Regions from separate parts of the Homo sapiens genome. Here region 1 is linked to region 2. The links are contacts of gene promoters, found by promoter capture Hi-C in blood cells and fetal thymus (Javierre and others, 2016). All regions are on one chromosome and are shown on one strand. The core of a region is centred on a gene start or on the middle of the fragment in contact, and the rest is flanking DNA. Distances in the headings are between cores, read along the strand shown. Region 1 has its middle 43 kb from the start of INTS13. Region 2 holds the start of MED21 (mediator complex subunit 21).

The links. Contacts are between HindIII fragments. The CHiCAGO score rates a contact against its expected background, and 5 or more counts as called.
Region 1: a fragment that was not itself captured here is called in contact with the fragment with the promoter of MED21 in region 2 in 1 of 17 cell types (neutrophils); the score reaches 5.1 in neutrophils.

Annotation. Positions count from the first base shown.
Region 1 is chr12:26,892,237-26,897,238 of GRCh38, reverse strand. No RefSeq gene overlaps it. Among named protein-coding and RNA genes, the nearest start is that of INTS13, 43 kb to the left of the region's middle. The HindIII fragment of the contact is 5,632 bases long and covers 539-5,002 here.
Region 2 is chr12:27,020,378-27,025,749 of GRCh38, reverse strand. MED21 (mediator complex subunit 21) reads right to left here and starts at 3,192. Exons shown (of 4, transcript NM_004264.5): 1 at 3,129-3,192. The coding sequence starts at 3,170. RefSeq lists an enhancer at 2,871-3,160. The HindIII fragment of the contact is 6,677 bases long and covers 665-5,372 here.

The DNA.
Region 1 (5,002 bases), core at 2,105-4,604, 130 kb after region 2:
TTTGTGTATTTATTATTGTTAAATTAATCATGCCTTTATGTGGAGGGTTGTAATGAATGCCTTGAATTGGTGGTTTATAGCACTTCTCACATTTGGAGATGGGCTTGTCAGTGGTGGAATTGCTGACTGTAATGGATGAATCATTACATGAATTGTTTATGGTAGTGGTGGCCTGGTTGACAAATTTATAATTGACTATCCAGGCTTTCAAGGGGAAATAACTGATGTAATTGATTATCTAGGCTTTCAAGGGGAAATAACTGATTAGAATTCACTGGGAGTATATTAATACAATTAACACAGAGGACAAATTATCGCTAATCTTTTGACAATCTGATGGTTGATTTTACCTAATTTCCATATTGATTAGTCCTATTTCTTGAACAGTAGTTGATGCATTTAGATTTCTGATGACATTATTTACTCTTCCTCTGACTAATGAGATCCATTTCATAATGAAATAGGGGTTGATATTTTGGAGGTAGGAAAAATATCTGCTCTTGTTTCCATGCCAGGGATCACATTTTCTCTGTAAGCTTGATGTTGAGAAGACAGTGGTAACCCTCTCCATAACTGAGGGGAAGGTGGAACTTCACATTCCAGGATGGGTGGCTTTCAGGGCCTTAGCACATCCATTTCTTGGTCAGTGTTACTTGTTAGGGTTCTTCCTTGAAACACCAGGGACTGAGGAACAAGGAAAGTCTGACGACTCTTACAGAAATGCTAAGCTACACTTGCTGCTGCTGCTACCACAACTAGTAGACACGTACTTGCCAGCAAGGCCGGAATAACATTTCTAATCCAGGGACTATTTTCTGTGTTCGATGAGGTTAGAATGCTGTTTCCAATTAACCCATTGTCTAGCTCCAGAGTAAGACAGATTCCACTATATGTGATGTTCTCAACTGTGCCAATTTTGTATTCCGGCAGCATAGCATATACAAAGTTTGGATGGACATTTCCGTCAGGCCTCCTTAGTTTAAACATTATTTCCTGGATTTCTTTGTTAGGACACCATTTCAGAGAACTGCTGTTGACTAAACATAAGGCCCTATTATACCAGGATATGATAGTAGACCCTGGTCTCAGGGTAATTAATACGATCTGTTCAGGGTTACTAGAGTTTAGATAGTCAGTGAGTTTAGCAAAAAATAAACCAATTCTCTCTCTCCTTTTAATGAATGAGTAGAAACTGTTTTTTGTGCGCAGAGTGTAAGTGTGGCAGGGACTACTTCTGGGTAGCTTCAGTTCAATGGTCAAAGGCATCTGAGCAACCAGACCCCCGGAATCAGTGGCACAGAGAATAAATTCCTGAGGGGAATATTGGAAATCCAGTTCTAGGGGATACCCATACAATATTTGATGAGTCATGTTAAATTGCAGCCAGCTTTCTGGGCCCGAAGGATACTCATTTACTGATTTTATTTCAAGTGTCAAGTGAGTTGAGTTGCCATCTTCCTGGTCATAAAATGTGTCAGGAGGGATCGGGAAATGAAATGTGTGCCCAACAGTTGCTGTTATCAATTGGATTGAATTAACAACTGTTGGAAATGTGTTGGGTTGACCTAGAAGAAGCAAACAAGAAATAAATTTCAACAAATACTACTCTTTATTTAAATGCTTAAGGTTGTCTTGATGGTTAACTTGTTTCCTCCCTTAGTTTTGCATAGGGCAGTAGGAACACTTCTATTGATCTCCTCTCTGTCTCCCTCTCTCTGTCTCTCTCTCTCTATATATATATACACACACACAAATATATATATATACAAAGATATATATATACACACAAAGATGTATATATACACACACATATACACAAAGATATTAGTATTACTAACTAATCAAATCTGGTTTAGGGGACTTCAGAAAAACAATATTTTGGCAAACAGCCTAAATTCTTAAACTGATTTTTTTGTTTTTTGGTTGAAAGTTGAACAGGAAAAGTTTTTTGTTTTTTTTTTTGAGATGGAGTCTCGCTCTGTCACCCAGGCTGGAGTGCAGTGGCATGATCTCGGTCACTGCAAGCTCTGCCTCCCGAGTTCACGCCATTCTCCTGCCTCAGCCTCCCGAGTAGTTGGGACTACAGGTGCCCGCCACCACGCCCAGCTAATTTTTTTTTTTTTTTTTTGTATTTTTAGTAGAGACGGGGTTTCACCGTGTTAGCCAGGATGGTCTCGATCTCCTGACCTCGTGATCTGCCCACCTCGGCCTCCCAAAGTGCTGGGATTACAGGCGTGAGCCACCGCACCCGGCCCAGGAAAAGTTTTAAGATCAGTACATATAAGTTAGATAATGGTACACGTAAGTTACATAATTGAACAGAATCATAGCAACAAACTAGTACTCCAATTTCAATTAACATTTAAATCTCAAACTACAAAACATTTCAAGCTCTGCATAGATACATTTTGGTGTTTTCTGAGGAAGATGAGATAACATCACAAAAATGGGGCTATGGTGCAATATAACAAAGGCAGGTGGCTTTAGATATTGTGGGGAGCATTAAGTTGGAAAGAAGAGTATCACGCTACTGAAAAAAACTCAATGAATCAAGAAGATAGAGTAGTGCAGTCACTTGATAAATAGACTATTTGAAAGTGACATCTAAGTACTGTTGCATATTTAATGGGATTGATTAACAATGTAAGTCGTAACTACTAGGGAGATCTGTTTCTACTGAATTTCAAACAGCATCAAGGTCCATCAGCCTTACCATTCCATGATGATAGAATTGCTTACCTGGGTGTGACGTGGTCTCAGGTTTCTGAGATTCAGAATGCAGAGCACATGTTCTCAGCATCTATGTTACTTGAAGCCAGTCATATTTAGTGACAGGCAAACTGGTTGTACCTTGTCTAATATTTCTGTAAACTTTGTAGTTACTCCAAAGGAACCCCTTTGTTGTTGTTGTTGTTTTGTTTTTGTTTTTTGAGACAGGGTCTCACTCTGTTGCCCAGGCTGGAGTGCAGTGGCACAGTCATGGCTCACTGCAGCCTCAACCTCCCAGGCTCAAGTGATCCTCCCCCTCAGCCTCCTGAGTAGTTGGGACTACAGTCATGCGCCACTACGCCTGCTATTTTTTTTAATTTTTAAATTTTTGTTTGTTTTTGTAGAGACAGGCTCTCACTATGTTGCCCAGGCTGGTCGCAGTTTCATGGGCTCAAGCAATCTTCCTGCCTCAGCCTCCCAAAGTGCTAGGATTCAGGTGTGTGCCACCACACCTGGCCCTTAATTTAGACATTTAATTTAAACAAGGAAATCTCCCCCAAATTAAAGATCAATGAAAATTTCCATGGAAATTACCATACAAGTATGTTTTGATTTGAAACAAATTCTAAAGCAATCACTCTGATATGAGTTAGCTAGTTCAGAGAAGAGAAGATGAGCAGAGATGATAGCTTGCATTTAATGAACCATGTGCCAGGCACTGTGCTAAGTACATACTTCATTTTATCTTCACAACAAATATATTGGAATAATTATCCTCAGTTTATAAATGATAGAAGTAATATACTAATGTGAATACCTAATATTACACATATAGTAAATTATACAGCTAGATTTCAAACCCGTTTCACTATAGATACTGAGTTATTAATCATCATACTGCCTGTTTGCAGTATATCATGAGATAAATAAACTAAATGAAAGAGGATGGTTTTAACTTTAGTTATAGAGTTTGAATCTGTTAGCAAGCATTTTTCTAACTCTGGTGGTCTGTAAGACTGCAACAGGGCCAGGCACGGTGGCTCACGCCATAATCCCAGCACTCTGGGAGGCCGAGGCAGATGGATCACCTGAGGTCAGGAGTTTGAGACCACCCTGGCCAACATGGTGAAACCCCATCTCTACTAATAATACAAAAAAAATTAGCCAGGCTTGGTGGTGGATGCCTGTAATTCCAGCTACTCGGGAAGCTGAGGCAGGAGAATTGTTTGAACCCGGGAGGCAGAGGTTGCAGTGAGCCAAGATCACACCATTGCACTCCAGCCTGGGCAACAAGAGCGAAACTCCGTCTCAAAAATAAAATAAAGACTGCAACAGATGAATGATTTAGGAATAATAATAACTGGACAGAGTAATGGCTTGAAGCTCCTTCCAGGTTTGTGAGTCTTTGATCAATCTATTGTAAACACAATACACATTAAATAATGTGTATAAGGCATAAGATGGGTACTGTATTTTGTTATTGACTTTTCTTTTTTTTTTTTTTGAGATGGAGTTTCGCACTTGTTGCCCAGGTTAGAGTGCAATGGCGCGATCTCAGCTCACTGCAACCTCTGCCTCCCGGGTTCAAGCGATTCTCTTGCCTGATCCTCCGGAGTAGCTGGGATTACAGGCACCTGCCACCACGCCTGGCTAATTTTTTGTACTTTTAGTAGAGACGGGGTTTCACCATGTTGGCCGGGCTGGTCTCAAACTCCTGACCTCAGGTGATCCTCCTGCCTTGGCCTCCCAGAGTGCTGGGATTACAGGTATGAAACACCACACCCGGCCTGTTGTTGACTTTTCTTACATGATATATTCTTAAAGTTTTTTCTTCCTAAAAACAACTCTATTCCTTGAAAAAGTTGGAAAATATAGACAAATGTAGAGAAGAAAATCAAGCACATGTAATTTCATCACACGGTTACCACTAGGTTACTCTGTTTTAATTATTTAGTTGGTTGCTGCTTGTTAGTATAAATATTCTCTGAAAAATATGGCAAAGAGAAAGCTCAACAACTCCCACAATCTTACCTTGTACCTTATTAAAGTCAGAGATAGTCCTGTATCTTGCTGTTAATACGTTTTTGGAGGTATGTGGGTAACTTATAAACATGTCAGTAGAATCCAAGTTAAGTACTGTATTGCCTGGCAAAATCTGGCTAGTTCTTGAGAATCCACTGAAAGCTAAATGTTCTGTGCCTCAGAACCAGTCACTAAGAATATGCATCATAGTTTTTGAGCCCATATTTTCAGGTAACTCAAATGCATTTGAAAATTTAGACACCTCAGAAAG
Region 2 (5,372 bases), core at 1,943-4,442:
TCAAACCTCCTATTTCTAATAAGTATTTCCACTGGGTTTCTCTGCCATTGTTTCAATGACAGAACTCAAAGGCAACTGTTTCCTCTTTTTAATATTTAATTTGTATTGAAAGTCTCCTAGTCAACCAATCTAACTTCAGATTCTTACTTTCCTTTGATCTTCATATTCTGCTAATACTACAAATCTTTCTCTTTTCCTTCTATCACTGTTGCTTAGTTCAACCAATTATCTCACACCAGAATTATTACAATAGTCTTCTTGTTGTTTTCCAGTTCACCAGGTTATTTATTTTAACCTGATCAAAACATTTAAGCTTACTCCACCACTGTCTTCAAGATAAATCTCCAACTCAGGCTGTTTTGAAGCTTTCAATAATCTAAGTCAACTCTACTGACTCGTTTTCCACTACTCCTTCATATTTATCTAACTAGTCATAAAGTCACTTATGACTAAATGGCTTTGCCCAGGTTTTGCTAATTGTAATGGAGCAATAAGTGCTCAGATGCTATACAAACCTAGATCCTGATCCTAGCTCTATTAATCCAAGCAGCATTTTTCATTTTTAAATTGGATACATTCTCCTATTATAGCATTGTTGTAATAGAGGAAACACACACAAAAAAATATTCAACACAGTGTCTATCTTTTCCATCCTTCAAAAGCTTTTAAGATCCATTTAGTCAACAAAAATTTATGGAAAATAACTAAAGTACTGCATATAAACACTACAGAGACATAGTGAATGCGACATAGCTTCTGCACTCACGGTTTTCAGAGGGTAGAACAAATGTTAAAAGTTATACAAATAATTCTGATTAGGATAAATGCTAAGAAGATTCCCCCTATTTTGGTTCACATCACTCCATATTCCAATTTACATCAGAACCTGAAGCTGAAAATACTCAATTCATTATAACTCCCTAACCACATACTGTTTTTCCATCACTTAAATGTCTCCTGAGTATTTGACATTTTTTAACCTCCTTTAGGAGTATCTCTTTGTAAACATGATGGTGCTTACACACAGTAGGCACTCATACTAGTTATCCTAAAGGCTTTTCTCCAAAATCCAATTATCATTATGCCTAACCTGGAGTTAAGGCCATATTCACTCTGTCCTTATTATCCTTCTAGTTACAAGACATGTATGAATATGCAAAATTTTCCCTAAAATAAGATTTCTATCCAGCAGCATCATTACAATTTGATTTCGTAAAACCTCAAAGGAGTAGTTCCCTGAGGAAGGCTGGCTGGCAGCCCAGGCAAGTCCCTGCAGGGTAGAATTTATCTTGGTGAATTCAACACTTAGAGGCTGGTCCTCTCAGCTTAAAAACTAGTGTTATTCACCCAGGGTAGATCAGTTTTATCACAAGTAGATTCACACTCTTCAAGTGTACAAATTCTGATGTATTAAGAAAAATGCCAAGTTATTAGCTTACAGTGAGGAAAAAAAAAACTGGCAAGGAAACCAGGTACTTAGGTTTTCCTATCAGCATGTTTTCTCTCTAGCCCCTTATCTAGGACATTAAATCACAATCAGACAATGAGAAACATAACTATCAATGGAAAACTATTTAGCAGAAAACAATCTAACTCGTAATGGTAATAAGTACACCCATTGCCGCATGGGAATACCCACTGACGTCTTGGTCAACGGGATGCACATATTATGTCAGTCCCCTATGGTTATAATAAAGCTGAAAAATTCTTATTGCCTAGTGACATCGTAGCAGTACTAACGCTGTAGCGCAATGCGTTCCTTAGTGCTTGTGGTGATGCTGCTGTAAATCAACCTACCACACTGCCAGTGTATGAAAGCATAGCACATACAATTATGTGCAGTCCATGACACTTGATAATGATACTAAATGACTTTGTTACTGGTTTATGTATTACTGTTTTATCGTTATTTTACATTGTACTTCTACTTATTAAAACAAAAAAAAAAGTTATCGCCAAAACCATGCATTTCTCAGAACATGACCCCTTCATTAGGGGCCCATGACTGCGCATCCTCTGGCTTTGCTTCTACTTTCCACTCAGGCATAGTGTGGAGGAAAAATAACCAGAAGGAACAAAGCTGGGGAGCTACTTACTAGACTTGGCCTTTAATAGAGAGTAGAATTTGGGGGAGACATTAAAAAGGACTTGTAGGCCGGGCACGGTGGCTCACACCTGTAATCCCAGCACTATGGGAGGCCGAGGCGGGAGGATCGCTTGAGGCCGGGAGTTTGAGACCAGCCTGGACAACATGGTGAAACCCCGTCTCTACTAAAAATACAAACATTAGCCGGGCGTGGTGGAGGGCGCCTGTAATCCCAGCTACTTTGGCTCAGACAGGAGAATCGCTTGAACCCGGGAGGCGGAGGATGCAGTGAGCAGAGATCGCGCCACTGCACTCCAGCCTGGGCGAAAGGCACTGTCTCCAAAGTAAAAAAAAAAAAAAAAAGAAAAGAAAAAAGACTCAAATAAGCGGAAAGACATACGAGGATTAGAAGATTTCCTATCATAAAGATGTCCCCAAACTGATGTATTCTGAGGGATGGCCAAGAGGCAAGAGATGGAAGGATACTCTGGGCCCAAAGGAACGAGCTAAGATGAAAGAAAATCTCTCACCTCACCTCAGCATCGCTCCCGCACCAACCTGAAAGCGCTGGTGAAGGAATACTCTCGGCTGACATTTCATTACAAAAACCCAGTCATCCAGAGCATGAGATCTCCCTTGGTGGATTAAAATTGATGAGGAAAGAAAAAAGCTCCTGCTTCTCCTCCCAACCCCCAAAAGAAAGAGAACCCGTAAGCACCACTGACAAGAAAATAAAACTGTCCTCAGGGAACACGACAGGACCGCGCAGCCCACAAGTCCTGGCGGCCTCACCCGGACAAGAACGATCTTCCCGGTCTCCTCAAGCGAAAGAGTCTGCTCCCTCCCGCACCTTCAAGCACCGCCCGGCAGCCGGCCTCAAACCTCCGAGTTCGCGGTGGCGCCTCCCGAGAGAGCGCTTTATGCCGAAGCCCTGTCTCTCAGTCCGCTCCCCACTTTCAAGTTTTGCCTCTTGGGCCCCTTTCCTCCCTTGCTTTACCTCAAGAAAGAGAAAGACAGAGGCTAATCGAATGAAATTCCTCACCGAATTCACAGCGTCCTGAAGCTGCGTGAGCCGATCCGCCATGTTCCTACCGCAGCAAACAGACGCCAAAACAGCTGCTCTTCCGCGACTGGGCAGCTCTGGCACGCGTCATGGCCAATCACAGGGCTGCGTCCTTGGAACGGGTGGGGTCGGAGAGAACTCCCCGCCCCGTCAGGAGTGGGTGGTACTCCCGAGGCGGCCTTTCTAGAGCGGGCTACACCTGAGGAGAGGCTGGATCTTTTGAGTAACTGGGGGAATGGTCTGGGGTCCAATCGCTTTGAAATACAGTCCAAGAGCCGAAATACTCCCCTTGGGGTTGTTAGGTGTTAAAGGCTTCAGAGATTGTTGGATTCTGCGGGGATTTTTTTTTTTTAAGTAATTTCTCGTACCCTCTCGTGTTTATTTATTGACCAAATTGAAGAGTAAATATATTTATTTTTATTTATTTATTTATTTATTTATTTATTTATTTGAGACGGAGTCTCGTTCTGTCGCCCAGGCTGGAGTGCAGTGGTGCGATCTCGGCTCACTGCCAGCTCCGCCTCCCGGGTTCACGCCATTCTCCTGCCTCAGCCTCCGGAGTAGCTGGGACTACAGGCGTCCGCACCACGCCCGGCATTTTTTTTTTTTTTTTGTACTTTTAGTAGAGACGGGGTTTCACCATGTTAGCCAGGATGGTCTCGATCTCCCGACCTCGTGCTCCGCCCGCCTCGGCCTCTCAAAGTGCTGGGATTACAGGCGTGAGCCACCGTGCTCGGCCAAGAAAAATTAGCTGCACAATTTAGATTTAGAGTTGGGACTTATTGAGAGTTTAAGTGTGAAAAGTGATAATCGAAACTTGGTATTTAAGGAAATTTAGCCTGAGGATAGTCTGGTAAGAAATGAGTTTGGAATCGGCAAATAACAGGTTTGTAGACTTCAAAAAACTCTCATATCCTCTTTCTCAGGCTGATTATCCGTGATTACCTTCCTGTGGCTGCGGGGAAGGTGGAAGACACAGTCCCTGGGGAACTCAGCTTGTTGGATTTATCCCAACACTTACTGTGAAGCACCACTTCTGCTTCACACCAATGCCCCACCCTCAGCCCCAAACAGTCTACAGACTTACTGGAGCCTCATTAAGAACGTGGATGAGGCATGTTCCCCATAATGGGACTAATGAGAAATCACTCTGTAATTTGTTTTCACTGTAACTTGGGGGGATTCTACAACCTTCTCCTCCCACCCTCACTTGAGAGTGTACCTTACGGAATGGCTGCCACATGCCAGGAAGTATATCCAGTGCTCAATTTGCAAAGATGAATAAGCCAAGGACTCACTAAGGAAGGTTTTGCAGTTGTCCAAGATTAAGATGAGCTGGGCCTAGAATAGGGTGTTGACCCTGATAAGCGGGGAAAGAAAGACTAAAATATATTTTTGAGAAAAAAAATTAATATGGATTGGTGACTGATTGGATATAGTTTAGTCCACTCCATAAGAATACTAAGTTTTGCAGCCTGATTGAAGGGAACTTGGGCAGTTGAAGTAGAGAAGCCACTTCAAGACATTCATATTGTGACACAGTTTTTGTCCTGCCATTATCTTCCTAATAGGTCTTCTGTGCCTCCACAGAGACCTCAGGTTGATGTCCAACTATCTCTGCCTGGTTTTCAAGATTTACTATAATCTGGCTCCAGCAAACAGACCCAGCCTCACCTCCTGATAATTTTCTGAGTGAAATAATCTGTTTCAGCCAAGGTCCCTGACCCCTTGGTTTTCCTGGTTCTTCAGCCTCTTTCGGCCACGGATCTTTTTAAGAATCAGATAAAAGCTGTGGACCCTTTCCCCAGACCAGACTCTCAACTTAGCCTACATTTGAAAAGGGGTTTAGGAAGCTCTTGAAGCTGTAGACTTCAAGAATAACCCACCTGCCAAATATAGTCTGTGCATCTAGCTCAGGATTTCTCAATGGCTGCACTCTTGACTTTTCAGGCTAGATTATTCTTTGCTGTGGGATGCTGACCTGTGCACTGTAGGATGTTTAGAGCATCCCTGTCCCTTACCCCTGAGATGCCGGTAGCATCCCCCCAATCCATTTATGCCAACATAAAGTATCTCCAGATAGTCCCAAATGTTGCTGGGGGGCAAAATTGCCCCCAATTGAGAACCACTGGTCTAGCTCTTTCCTCATTCTTTACCTTTCCCAAAGCAATTTCTTTCCTGCTATTTAATCCTTACCCTACCTTTTTAAGCTGTACACTTCTC